Linked DNA regions of Homo sapiens: regions 2 and 3 are each linked to region 1. Evidence: promoter capture Hi-C in 16 types of primary human blood cells and fetal thymus (Javierre and others, 2016). All regions are on one chromosome and are shown on one strand. Each heading gives the region's core, a stretch centred on a gene start or on the middle of the fragment in contact. The rest is flanking DNA. Distances are from core to core; before and after follow the strand shown.

The links. Contacts are between HindIII fragments. The CHiCAGO score rates a contact against its expected background, and 5 or more counts as called.
Region 2: a fragment that was not itself captured here is called in contact with the fragment with the promoter of PRXL2A in region 1 in 1 of 17 cell types (M1 macrophages); the score reaches 5.4 in M1 macrophages.
Region 3: a fragment that was not itself captured here is called in contact with the fragment with the promoter of PRXL2A in region 1 in 1 of 17 cell types (monocytes); the score reaches 5.0 in monocytes.

The regions. Positions count from the first base shown.
Region 1 is chr10:80,406,434-80,411,094 of GRCh38, forward strand. It overlaps PRXL2A (peroxiredoxin like 2A), which reads left to right and starts at 2,118. Exons shown (of 6, transcript NM_032333.5): 1 at 2,118-2,210. RefSeq lists a silencer at 1,897-2,186 and enhancers at 2,472-3,065, 3,912-4,411. The HindIII fragment of the contact is 7,614 bases long and covers 1-4,661 here.
Region 2 is chr10:80,631,668-80,636,328 of GRCh38, forward strand. It overlaps SH2D4B (SH2 domain containing 4B), which reads left to right. Exons shown (of 8, transcript NM_001388272.1): 7 at 2,618-2,838. All of the region lies in intron 1 of LOC105378387 (a long non-coding RNA gene), which reads right to left. Among named protein-coding and RNA genes, the nearest start is that of LINC02655, 16 kb to the right of the region's middle. The HindIII fragment of the contact is 1,207 bases long and covers 2,066-3,272 here.
Region 3 is chr10:80,549,637-80,554,297 of GRCh38, forward strand. All of the region lies in intron 1 of SH2D4B (SH2 domain containing 4B), which reads left to right. Among named protein-coding and RNA genes, the nearest start is that of SH2D4B, 14 kb to the left of the region's middle. The HindIII fragment of the contact is 1,877 bases long and covers 1,220-3,096 here.

The DNA of each region.
Region 1 (4,661 bases), core at 868-3,367:
GGACCTTCCACCCCAGAATTCTGCTATCCTCAACCCCTGAATGGCTCTGTCATTAATGGTCAGTCTCCAAGAACTCATTTCCCAAGGAAATGACTTCCTGTTTTGTTCTAAGTGGCCTTCCCTGCAAACCCTCCTCACCTTTGAACTTCCTATTTTGGGATGGAAAGATTGACCCTTCTCCCGCTCCTCTTCACAAGGTAAGGAGAAACAAGGGAGAAGAAAGAAAGGTCCTCTGGAGAGAGATATATGTATCATACATATCTTATACATATATCATATATATCTTATATATCTCATATATATCTTATATATATCTTATATATCATATATATATATATATATATATATATATATATAAAACTACACCCGCATTGCACCAAAGTATACGAAATATTTTCTGGCCTTCAAATCATATGCCTAACTCCTGCAGGAAAACTGCATGGGCACTCAGGCTGATCTCCCTTACCCCACAACTTAGATCCACCTCTCACGTTTTCTAAGTTTATTTCCACGCTGTCCCTGGGCCAGGCTCTAGGGTCCCAGAGGTGAAGTGGAGGAATTCACAGTTTGGTTGAGGAGAGACCCCCTTGAATAGATCAAGCTCCCCAAGTGTTGCTGTAAGTTTACATGGAACATGGAGTCTGAGTGGGAAGTCAGGGAGGTGAATCACGGAAGCCTTTGGACTTTGTACACCTGTGGGCAGCTCCCAGATGAAGGGGGGAAGGTGTTGCAGGCAAATGACCACCTTTGACGGGCGGACATCGGCCTGCTTTGCCACTTCACCTTATGCTGCCCTGTGACTGGTCTTTGCACTGTGTCACCGATATGTCTTTTTTTTTTTTTTTTGAGACGGAATCTCACTCTGTCACCCAGGCTGGAGTGTAGTGGCACCATCTCGGCTCACTGCAACCTCCACCTCCGGGGTTCAAGCTATTCTCCTGCCTCAGCCTCTTGAGTAGCTGGGACTACGGGTGCGCGCCACCACACCCGGCTAATTTTTGTATTTTTAGTAGAGACGAGGTTTTGCCATGTTGGTCAGGCTGGTCTCGAACTCCTGCCCTCAAGTGATCTGCCCGCCTTGGCTTCCCAAAGTGTTGGGATTACAGGCATGAGACACCGAGCCCGGCCAACCACTAATATGTATCGTGAGTCAGCTCTGCTGTCTCTGAAAGTCCAACCTCCTACTTTTTGTTTTTTGTTGTTAAGACAGGGTCTTTTTTTTGTTTTTTAAAGACAGGCTGGAGTGCAGTGGCGCGATCTGGGCTCACTGCAACCTCCGCCTCCCGGGTTCAAGCGATCCTCCCACCTCAGCTCCAGAGTAGCTGGAAATACAGGCACGCGCCACTATGCCTGGCTAGTTTTTGTTTTTTACGTAGAGATGGAGTCTTACTATGGTGCCCAGACTGGTCTTGAACTCCTGGGCTCAAGCGATCCTCCCAAAGCCCTGAGATTACAGGCGTGAGCCAGCGCGCCGGACACAACCTCCTACTTTCATGAAAGAGTGGGCACTTCCAACAGGAGGAGTAAGTGGATGAGCGGTGTGTGACACACCCGCCTCAGCGTCGCCCGGAGTCCGCAAGGCTGCGGCTCACCGTTCTCTGCCCCATAGCTGGCATTGTGGAGTGAAAGGGAACGTGGGTGGAGGATTGAGGTTGGAAATTCTGAATCTGTACATACAGCTTGAAGGGGCTCATCGAATGTGTCGGTCCTTTAGATTCCCCCTGCCCATGGAGGTTAAAAAAAAAAAAAAAACCTATCAAAAGAGCTATTCAAAACCAGGCTGAAGATTGGAAGGAAGTTGGCCAGCCTCGGCTGCAGGACAGGTGCTTCCAGGCTCCATTAGGGGTGTCCAGCGCCTTCTTTTGCCCTAGGCAGCGCCCTGAAGAACGCGTCGGGGCCTCGGTTCGCGGACTTGAGGAGTGGACCGACCGAGCGCTGTGCGTAAAAGGACCGCTGGGGCACACGCCCGAGCGCCACCGGAGCTAGGAGACCGCGGCCCGGAGGTCGGCGAGTCGGGGGCAGGCCCGGAGCTCCTCCCACGGGGGGCGGGGCGGGTCACATGGCGGTGGCGCGGTAGCGCGCGATGCAGCACAGGCTAGAGGCTGCGCAAGCGCGGGGCCCGCCCCTGGGACCCTCCGGGCCGGGCGGTTTGGCCCCTTAGCGCCCGGGCGTCGGGGCGGTAAAAGGCCGGCAGAAGGGAGGCACTTGAGGTAGGTGCTGCGCGCCGGGGCTCCGCGAGGCACGTGATGTCCGTAGGCGGGGCCTGCCGCGGCGTAGGTGGGGAAACTGAGGCAGTGCAGGGCCGGTAGGGTGGGTGCTGGGCTGGTGAGGCGCGCCCCTCGGGCCCGCGCCAACTTTCTTAGGAGCCGCCGCAGCGCTGGCGCTCCCTCCGAGGACGACGACCCTTCCGCCACCCTGCGTGGCGGCCGATGGAAAAACCCTGCGCCCAGACGTCGGAGAACGGAGACGGGGACCCGGCGCTGCTGCGGCGGGCTAGGGCCCCCTCTGTCCACGCCCGCAAGCCTTGAGTGACGCCGGTGGCGCCAACCTTCGCGAATTGTTGGGACAAAGAACAGAGGAGAGGGCCCTGCCCTGGAGCATGGGCCCGGGGGCCGCCCTGCTGGACCAGCCCCAGGTGCGGACCTGGCAGTCCTCGTCCTCGTCTCTGTGCCCGCTTAGGGTCGTGTCTTTTAAGAGGGCACGGTTTCTAGCGTTGTTCAGCGTTTCGGAGGCACCTGTTCCCCCTCTTTCCCAAGAGTCACAAACGCCTGACTTTAAATTGGGTAGAGCCCAGTTGTAAACTTAACAGCCCTGCTGAGGTCTAGGAATGAAAAGATGAACAATCTGCCCCCAGGGTTGTTGCTGGAGCGGGAGGTGAAGGCGCAGGTGGAGATGGTTAGAGGCAAAGGAAGGGAAGTCAAGGCCCAGCCGGTCCAGGGCTGTGGGAAGGAGGCACACCCGGGAGTCCACTGCCGGACCGGGGTTCCCAGCTGCTCCTGCGCCTCTTTTCCTTGCCACATCATGCTGTCTGCACAGCCCAGCAACCCAGAACTCAGCTTTTTTGTTTGTTTTATTTTAATGTATTTTCCTTTGAACCTGGCAGGTGGTTTTTCAAAAAGAAAATAATCAAGATTTGTTTTGAAAAGCATTGTGAAAAAGTCAGCTTGAATAGTCTTGAATGCTCCTGCTCGGGCCCAGCTTTGGAGAATGAGGATTGGGATTTCCACTGCAGACCCCGACTCGTTACCATACTCATTCATCAGAAAACTCTTCATTTTGTGTACAAATAACGTTTTGAGGGTAATCATTGCTCTAGAAATGAAGAATTATACATCGTATTTATTGCACTTTTTGTAAGGTACCTCACAAGGCACCTCCTATACATTTAATCCTTTGATTCTTGCAACTCTGTAGAAGGTAATTAAGGAAGCATTCCCATTTTACTGATGCAAAACAGTTCCTTGTCCAGGTTTATACAGCTTGCAAGAATTAAAGTTAGATATTATTCTTGGTGTGGGCCTTTCCTATATCCCCGTCTTTTATAAGAGCATGTCATTTAGTTGAGACCTTCTGCATTACTTCTGAAGGGGTACAAAAGACATTTCTGATGATTTTCTCATCTCGTGTCATTTAAATGGTGCTCAGAAAGTTTGGATAGGACTGGAACTCTAGGGCTCAAGCCCCAGGCTCTGTCCCTATCTAAGCAATAGGGCAGCTGTCCTGCCAGTTGGGTTCTTGCTTCTTTGTGAAATGTTGAGCAGAAGCTCCAAGTCTCTCTGCTGTGGCTTGTGTGGCAAGAACCATCCTGAGGTTCTGTGCAGAGAGCCAGCCTCACCTTTGAGCTCAGTGGCCTCTGGCACAGGGAAATTACAGCTGGGCAGTGTCCTTTGCCTTCTCTGGCACTGCTAGTGCAGGAGGCAGTGTTAGCTGCTACAGGAATAGCATGGAGCGGGCCTGCAGGCCAGAGGGGCTGAGACAAGCCAGTGTTCCCACCAGACCTAGAACGTTCACCAGAAAGCAGGCCTGCAGTGACACAGCTGCAGAAGTTCACTATTTTGTGCCTGTCCTGCTTCAGATATCCTGTCTTTATAGGGGCACGAGTGAATCTGAGCCCTGCAAAAGAGAGAAAGATAATGCTGCTTTGCCGTTTTCTAGTGCGTTACCGCATTAAAAATTGCTCTTCTTATATAATCTTTATGACAACTCTTTAAAGTGCCCTTGTTTTTAAGAAGACACTGAGGTTCAGAGGGATAAAATAACTCTCAGAGTCAAAGAGAGAAAACCCAGGATTATTGGCTTTTAGCCCAGTGTCTTCTGTGGTATTGCCTTGCCTTCCTATCCACACCCATATAACTTGATGAAGCCGGAGTTCTGAGCCCAGACAGGAGGCTGTGCAAGTGAGATTAGAATGGCTTGCTCTTTGAGGGGTGGGGGGCCCTACAGCTTGAGGAAACAAGAGGACATAATCAGCTACTGGGAAACCCTGAGATACGCCCAAGAGTGAGGAATGTGGGGGCTGGTGCTGCTTTCAGCATCTATTCAGAGGTTTCTGAATCTGGCATTTGAGAGTAGGACTGGGCCAGAACCAGGCAGATACACACCCCAAGGAGCAGGGCTGAGAGTTGGAGACTGAGGCAGGTAGGTGAGAGCTCATTGCAAGT
Region 2 (4,661 bases), core at 1,419-3,918, 230 kb after region 1:
CTAGAGGACATTATGCTAAGTGAAATAAGTCAGGCACAGAAAGACAAATACCTCATGATCTCACTTATATGTGGAATCTAAAAACATTGAACTTACAGAAGCAGAAAGTGGAATGGTGGTTACCGGGGCTGGGAGAGGCAGGCACTGGGGAGATGTTGGTCAAAGGACATAACATTTCATTTAGACAGGAGGAATAAGTTCAAGAGATCTATTGTACAGCTTGGTAACTACAATTAATGATATATTATATACTTGAAAATTGCCAAGAGAGTTTTTGTTTGTTTGTTTGAGACGGGGTCTTGCTCTGTCACCCAGGCTAGAGTATGGTAGCATGATCACACATCACTGCAGCCTTGAACTTCTGGGCACAAATGATCCTCTTGCCTCGGCCTCCCAAGTGGGTGTAGCATCTTCATGCCCAAGTTATTTTTAATTTTTTTGTGGAGATAGTTGTCTCCACAAAAAGTGTGGAGACAACAACATGGGCTATGTTGCCCAGGCTGATCTTGAACTACTGGGCTCAGGTGATCCTCCCACCTCAGTCTCCCAAAGTGCTGAGATTACAGGTCTGAGCTATTATACCCAGCCAAGAGGGTAGATTTTTAAGTGTTCTTACCACAAAAAATATGTGAGGTAAAGCGTATGTTAATCTTAAGTAGATTGATTTAGCCATCCCGCAGTGCATACATATATCAAAATGTCATGTACACCATAAATATATATAATTTTTATTCATCAATGAAAAAGTAATAAACGTTACAATAAAGATACTTGTTTAAAAGAAAAAAAGTTGAATCGTATATAATTTGACTGTAGTCTCCCACCCTAGTAACACTCCCCTCCTCTCCAACCCTAGCCCCGCTACCATATCAGCTTGAGGTGCTTGGAGTGGGGATGAGGGTGACATCTTCTGGTCCCTCTTCCTCCCAGGCCCTGGCCCTGCGTCTGGCCCCCCTTACTTATCTCCCTGCTGCAGCCTCTTTTAGGGCCCGGGTGTTCTGGTGTTGGGGCAGGGAGGTAGGTGAAGGACAGTGCCAACTTTTGAGGGATCCTGGACTTTCCCTTCCGGTCCTCTTTTGTCTGTCCCTACTTTTTTGCATGAAGCCCCCAAGGCCTTCTGGGGGGAAGCAGCGGGGTGCATCCTCCCTCTTGCATGGGCCAGTGTTTATTTTTCAGGTGTCCTGTGGCGAAAGGGCTCCTCACTTCCTTCCTTGTCTTACTCTTCTTCCTTTTCTGCTTGTAGAGCTTGGCTGGGGAGGGGTGGCTGGCTTGGATGCCTCTTGCTGTAAATCCTGGGCAAGGAGGAAATAGGTGGCCCCTGGTTGCGCCAATTGTCTTTAAAGGGTGCAGCATTTGGCAGTGTGGTTGCCTCTGTGTCCTATGCCTTGGGCACAAGGGAAGTCTCGAGTGTGCCCTGGGAGGCAGGAGAGTGATGGGAGGGGAGCCTGACTGCGGCTCGCTCGGGAGTGGCTTCGGGGATTGGGGAGAAGTCACAGGTGTGCTGAGCCTCTCAGGGTCATGGAGATGGGCAGCCCAGCCACTCTGTCCCCATGCCTGTCACTGATAGTGTGGAAAGGGTAAGTCCATGGGTGAGCAAAGGGACAATGTGTTGCAATTCACCTCTCCTCCAGAATAACAGATGCTAACAGGATCCAGCATCTCCACAGCTATTCTCTATGTATGAAATGAGTTTGAATACTTTATTCAACTTGAAAGTCATAACATACCTTCTAAGTATTTGGGTTATGATCATCTAAATGTCAAAGGACACTGGAGACCTTGAGGGCTTGGCTGGAAATTCCATAGCCAGGTTGGCAGAGGTCGGGGGTGGGGGTAATCCAGGTCTTCTGGCTTCCCCTCCTCTTCCCACCTACTTGCCTCTGGAACCTGTTCTACATCACGCCTCCTATATCACCCAGATGACAGCGGCTTCCTGAGAGCATTTCAGGGGATTGCTACCAGCATATCAACGACTCCAAGGCCAACCAGAATTCCAAATTGTGATGAAACTGCATTGTGTAGGAGTGCAAGTCCTTAGAAAGTTTTGATCTCTGAGCTGAAGTGAAGCTTGATTCTATGCCCCTATTAAGAAACTTTTTGCCTGGTGTCCACAGGTATTTGGAAGAAGTCTTTTTACTTTTTAAGGGAAACCCCTATTTTTAGGTGCTTATTTATGGTACTAGAGAAATAAGTGAGTTAGTCATCAGCAGCCATTCTGGACTAGTCTTTAAAGCAGGCCTCTTAAGGCTTTTCACAAGCCTGTTGACTTATATTTATAATCAATAATGCTATAATCACAGCTCACTACTAATTCCTTGCTTACCCAATTAATCCAAATCACCCTGGCTCAATGTGGAGGAAAGCATGCTCAACTCACGTCCTAGTAGAAACTCTGCCCCCAGGCTCACGGCGGGTGGCGCTGGGCCAAGATGCCCTCTCTGTGGAAGGAGGCATGTGCTTGGCCAGCCCTTGGGGCTCTTTCCTTCCTGCCACCCTGGACTGTGTGGATGGCATGTGCACTGAGCCACAGGGTGAGGGGCAGGGAGGAGTGGAGAATCGTGGGGGAGGCAGTCGCAGAACCTGCTGTGTTTTTTTGTTTTTTTCTATTTTAAATCAGGAATTATTAGCCGAGAAGATGCAGAAGCTCTCCTGGAGAACATGACTGAGGGAGCATTCCTGGTCCGGGTCAGTGAGAAAATCTGGGGTTACACCCTCTCCTACCGCCTGCAGAAAGGGTTCAAACACTTTCTTGTGGATGCTTCTGGGGATTTTTACAGCTTCCTGGGAGTGGACCCCAATCGCCATGCAACGCTCACGGATCTCGTTGATTTCCATAAGGTATCCCTCACAGGGATACTAATGGGGGGGAGGGGGAACTGGTGGAAATTGGAGCTGAAGAGAGAGCTAGAGCAAGAGAAGCAAGGCTGCTGGCTCTGGGCAGTGGGGCTGGAGGGTCTCAGAGATGTAGAGCATCAGGGCAGAAGAGACCAGAGGTTGTCCACACGGGGCCCGAGGGCCCACTGTTCTGCTCTCTGCTTCACTCTCTGGGGCATGCGGGCACCTCTCACCCTGGTCCTCAGGCCTCTTCTCACCTTGGGTACCTGAGTGCTCCCTCCTGTTAACACAAGGACTGGATGATCATCCCTTTCTCCAAGCCTGGGTCTCATCTCCAACTCATTCCCAAGAACGTCTCTCATGAGGACCTCCAAGCCAGACCTCTAGCAGCTTCTGAGAGTTAGCTGAAGTGCAGTAGGCAACCCTGTGATTAGAGAAGCTTTTCTAGTGGTGGAGTTACCATGTCTCTTATTTGAACTCCAGCTTAACCACTTAGTACATGTGTGACCTTGAGCCAGCACCTTAGTCTCACCAAACGTCAGCGTCCTAGCCAGGCAAATGGATGTGAATAATACTTAGCTCGGACCCTGTGAGCATTAAATGAAGTCAAGTACAGAGCAGCGCTTTGTGACTGTGAAGTGCTTATGGAAAGTCTTGTTTCTCAGCATTCTTTTTGTTATTTGTCCTCCTGCCATGGACCCTATATTGGAAAAGATGTTGTCTTCCAAGCAGTGTATGTAGTAAGAAGCAACGTTTATGTTCGTGTGGCCGTTGGCATCATTAGTAACTGGGAGAAAGCCAGAGGTGGAACTCAGTGACCTGGAAGGGCAGGACGAAGGATTCCGAGGGGCAGAGTGGTGGTAGCTCCGGCGTCCGACATCTAACCAAGCTTTGTGGGTGTAGATGGTTTCACAGAATGACTTGACGGTCTCACTGGGGTTTTGGTATAATAGGGACTCTTAGGTTTGTATTGCTTTCTCTTTGTCTCTTCATGGAAGTCCCTAGAAATTCAGGGACAGCCCTTGACCTTATGAATAATACACATGGAGAATCACCTATTCACAGATACTCGGGCACTGAGTGTGGAGTACTGCCTGGAAACTGGACTAACCAGGATCAAGGTTGATTTCTACGTGTTGGAAAGAGCCTTCTAACAGAGGAAAGCGAAAGGGAGGGGATGTGAGGACATTGACACATTCTCTGTGTCAAGCACTGAACCTATTGCTCTACATCCATGCTCTTATTTAATCTTACCAATAGATCTGTGAGGGAGGCATCTTTTTATTTATTTATTTTGTTCATTTTTTAAATTATACTTTAGGTTCTAGGGTACATGTGCACAACCTGCAGGTTTGTTACACAGGTATACATGTGCCATGTTAGTTTGCTGCACCCATTAACTCGTCATTTACGTTAGGTATTTCTCCTAATGCTATCACTCCCCCTTCCCCCAACCGCACAACAGGCCCCAGTGTCTGATGTTCCCTGCCCTGTGTCCAAGTGTTCTCATTGTTCACTTCCCACCTATGAGTGAGAACATGCGGTGTTTGGTTTTCTGTCCTTGTGATAGTTTGCGAGAATGATGGTTTCCAGCTTCATCCATGTCCCTGCAAAGGACAGGAACTCATCCTTTTTTATGGCTGCATAGTATTCCATGGTGTGTATGTGCCACATTTTCTTAATCTAGTCTATCATTGATGGACATTCTGGTTGGTTCCAAGTCTTTGCTATTGTGAATAGTGCTGCAATAAACATACGTGTGCATGTGTCTTTATAGTAGCATGATTTATCATCCTTTGGGTATATACTCAGTAATGGGATCGCTG
Region 3 (4,661 bases), core at 908-3,407, 140 kb after region 1:
CGAGGGCTTCTGGTTCCTTTGCAGCCTGCCACCTTGCTCTTGTTTCCTTCCTGCCTTCCTCAGGCCCAGCAGTGAGGTTCTTAGTGAGGCAGCTCCACTTGCAAAGGCCACCAGGGCCCACTGCTCCCCATCTTTAGCACCAGTGCTTTCCGAAGCTGCACAACCTCGACTTACCAGGTGGGCAGTGAGAGGAGCCAGAGCAGAGGCTGCTGTGAGCAGGCATGGGGTCACCCACAGTCACCGGTGCTGATGGCACTTGGTACCTGGCAGGCATGGGCATCCCCAGGGGTGAGGGTGGTTTCTGTGGCTGTGGAGAAAGATTAATATTTAATTAATTTAATTAATTAACAATTAATAATTAATTGTCAGCTTTGAATAATCTGTGTCCACAAGGAAAGAACTTGCAGCCTTAGTCAGCTAAGGGCTTTTGGTGGGGAGCGGGGGGTGGGGGAAAGGGGTCCCTGGAAGCTAAGGAGGATGGGTCGGATGGCAGAGCAAGAAGTAAAGGCAGCTGCATTCTATACTATGAAGGAGAACTCCTCCAGATGGAGGGCCTGTCAGGCCTGTGCTAGGCCCTTTAAGGGCCTCAGCTTATCTGACCCCTCAGTGACCTGGAAGATGCACCCCTATGCATTTCATAAAATCTAAGAGTGCTTGATTGAAAGACACATCATTGGCTGGGCACAGTGGCTCACACCTGTAATCCCAGCACTTTGGGAGGCTGAGGTGGGCGGATCACGAGGTCAGGAGATCGAGACCATCCTGGCTAACATGGTGAAACCCCATCTCTACTAAAAGTACAAAAAAACTAGCCGGGCATGGTGGCAGGCGCCTATAGTCCCAGCTACTCGGGAGGCTGAGGCAGGAGAATGGCGTGAACCCAGGAGGTGGAGCTTGCAGTGAGCCCATATCGCGCCACTGCACTCCGGCCTGGGTGACAGAGTGAGATTCCGTCTCAAAAAAAAAGAGAAAGACACATCATTATTTTATGTCCTACTAAGAAAGCTGTAAATTAAACTATGATACATCAATGGTTGTAAGTACATCCTGATTGAAGAAATGTTAAAATAGGTGTCTTTGAATCAATGAATAAGGTATTATTTCCATTTTAGTTGAGCAAGTGGAATCTCAGAGAGGTTTAGCAACCTGCTCTAAAAAACAAGTAGGAGTTGGAATTAGAATCTGATCCTAGGCCTGTTCTTCCTGCCACAACATAGGAAGCTTCCTCCACACTGTTTCTGCCATGATGAAAAACATATATTGCAGGTGGTTAAAGATCAACACAAAAAAAGGAGAAACAAAATTATCAAAGTAATAAAAGAAAATATGAGACTCTGTTGGGGGAGAGTGAAGCCTTTCTTAGAATAAAGCACAACAAGGAAAAGAAAAAGAAAAAGAAACATGACTTGATTTTTATTTTATTTTATTTTTTTTGAGACGGAGTCTCACTCTGTTGCCCAGGCTGGAGTGTAGTGGCGCGATTTCGGCTCACTGCAAGCTCTACCTCCCGGGCTCACGCCATTCTCCTGCCTCAGCCTCCTGAGTAGCTGGGACTACAGGCACCCTCCACCATGCCCGGCTAATATTTTTTGTATTTTTAGTAGAGATGGGGTTTCACCATGTTAGCCAGGATGGTCTCGATCTCCTGACCTCGTGATCTGCCTGCCTCGGCCTCCCAAAGTGCTGGGATTACAGATGTGAGCCACCGCGCCTGGCCAACATAACTTGATTTTTAAAAATCTTAATAAAAGATGCCAAACTTAAAAAAAGAATGAAACTGGATTTAAATAGAAAAATATTTGCAACATATATAACAGGCAAAGGATTAGTATCCAGAAAATATAATGAAGTGCTCCAAATCAACTAGCAAAAGACAAACAACCAATAGAAAAATGAAGGAAAAAAAATGAACAAGCAATTGCAGGAGGGAAATTTCAAATCACAATGAAGATGCGAAAATACATTCAACTTCACTAATAAACCACTTCCACTCAAATTAAAGCAATCAGATTAGCAAGAGTTAGGAGAGTCTAAGAGTAGCCATGTTAATGAGGACCCAGGGAAAGAGATTCTCTCCCACACTACAAAGAGTGAGACACACAGCGGGACTGAGTGCCTGTCCCTTTCCAATGCTTCTGCAGGTTCCCGAAGAGCTTGGGCAGATGGGGATGGGGTGGTGGTGTCTTAGTCCAGGCTGCTATAAGAAATTATCACACACTGAGTAGTTTAAACAACAAACATTTCTCACAGCCCTGGACTCTGGATGTCTGAGGTCAGGGAGCCAGCATGGTCAGGGGTCTGATGAGAGCCCTCTTCCTGGATGCCAATGGCTGACTTCTGTATCCTTACATGGTGGAAAGAAAGTGTGCTAGCTCTCTGGCCTCTTCTTATAAAGGCACTAATCCCATTCATGAAAGTTCCATTTTGTTGACCTAATTACCTCTTGCCCTAATTACCTTCCAAAGGCCATACCTCCTAATACCATTACACTGGGACTAGGGTTTCAATGTATGAATTGCAGGGGTACACAAACATTCAGAATTTCAGACCATTGTTAGAGAACAGAGGCTCATGCCCAGGGTCACACAGCTGGTCAGTGATCAGTGGACCAGCAGGGAGCCTGAGTTTCGGTGCAGTTTCCCTTTCCTTCCCTTCTCCCAGCTGCTGCCAAAAGCCCAGGGACTGTTTGAACAGGACTGACTTTTGCTCCACTTTGCATGGAGGGAGGTGCCTCTCCTGCGCTACTTCAGGACTCCAGCTGGTGGATGCTGACCTGAGCTGCCCTAGCTTCCTGTCTCTCCCCTGGGATTCTTTTCTGTCCCCTCATTTCAGGATGCTAACGCTGTCCCCTCCCTGCTTCCCCATCTCTGCACCTCCCTGCTTCCACTTCCAGCCTGGAGGACAGCAGGGGCAGCTCGTGAGAAAGGCCACCAGCTGCTTATCTCGGCACTCCCTGTAACCCAATCCCAGCTCTCACTCCAGCTCAGAGGAGCTGGGTGGAAGTAGCAGGTTGTAGGCATCTACCTGTCCCTCTGCTATCTCTCCGAGTGGCTAGCATTACTGCTTTCCAGGTTTTTCTCACCTAAGAATCAGCAAAGCTTCCTATGGTTTTCCCATTTGGAAACAGATTTTGCCTTAGATGTTGGGGTCTAAATTCTTTGGGTTCATTTTCATGTGTATTTACCCCATGTCGTGTTAGAATTACATAACCCTAGGCTTTAGGCATTTCTTTCTCCCCCTCTCTCTCTTTCTTTCTCTCTCTCTCTCTCTCTTGCTCTCTCTCTCTTTCTTTCTTTGAGACGGAGTTTTGCTCTTGCTGCCCAGGCTGGAGTACAATGGCACGATCTTGGCTCACTGCAACCTCTGCCTCCCGGATTCAAGTGATTCTCCTGCTTCAGCCTCCCGAGTAGCTGGGATTACAGGTGCCCGCCACCACACCTGGCTAATTTTTTATATTTTTTAGTAGAGATGGGGTTTCACCATGTTGGCCAGGCAGGTCTTGAACTCCTGACCTCAGGTGATCCACCCACCATGGCCTCCCAAAGTGTTGGGATTACAGGTGTGAGCCACCATGCCTGGCTGGCATCATTTATTTCTATCCTAGTATTTCACTGGTGTGCTTTTTTTCTGGGCACCATGGTGGGATTCTCACCCTCAAAACTGTGAGATGCTAAAGATTTAGGATGTCCTGTCCCTTGTCCCCAGGACATGTGCAGCTCCCTCATTTTACAGATTAAGCGATTTTGATCCCAGAGATTTTAAGGAACAGGACTGACAGCAGGGTCTGGGCTCCTCACTGGCACATTGATTCTGCTGTGTCTCTGTATTGAACAAATTGCAGACAGGGAAGTAGGGGTTGGAGGTGGGGCGTTGTGGATTTCCCAATGACAGTTACACCAAGTCCTGCTACACGTGGGGCATCATGGCCCCGGTGGGAGCTGTTCTTGGGTTTGTTCTTGTTCTAGCAAGAGAGGGTCCAGGCTTCATAGGAGGTGTGTCCTTGAGCTGGGGTAGAGGGGGCGCCATTTCACAGTTACAAGGTTGGAGGGAGTGATGGTGGTGGCTTAGCGTGACCAGCCCCATGTCTGTGTTGCTCATACACAGCAAAGGCAGTGCTGAATACAATATCAAATAGCCTGGCACTATTGGCAGCAGCCCCTGTGCCCACAGAGTGCTGGACTTTTGCCTCCTTTATGCCAGAGGCATGTATGACAGTAAGAGTGTCTGGGTTCCAATTTTGGCTACCCACTTTCTAACTGTGGCTGTTTCCCACTTATTAATTTGGCTTTGGTAAGATACTCATGAGTCTCTGAGCCTAAGTTTCCTCTTACCTAAACTGGAGATGATGATAATAAGTTCTGCATCCCAGATTTGTAAGGAAGACGAAATGATGGTCCCAGTGAAGCAAAGTATGTTGTGAGTACTTGATAAACATTAGCAGAGCACATTCCTCCTGTGCTTAGTGGAGTTCTAGAAGAACTTTTCCAGAAGACTGAAGTTCCAGAAGATTAAAGTTTACAGCTTAGAACAAAAGGCATCTGTGTTAAGAGAACACATCGCTGTTGGGGCAGCCGCTTCCTCGCAGGATTCTCTGAGAGGGGCCGTATCCTCAGCATGGGTCCTGCCTTTAGGAGCTGGTGCTGTAGGCACAGAGGGGGACA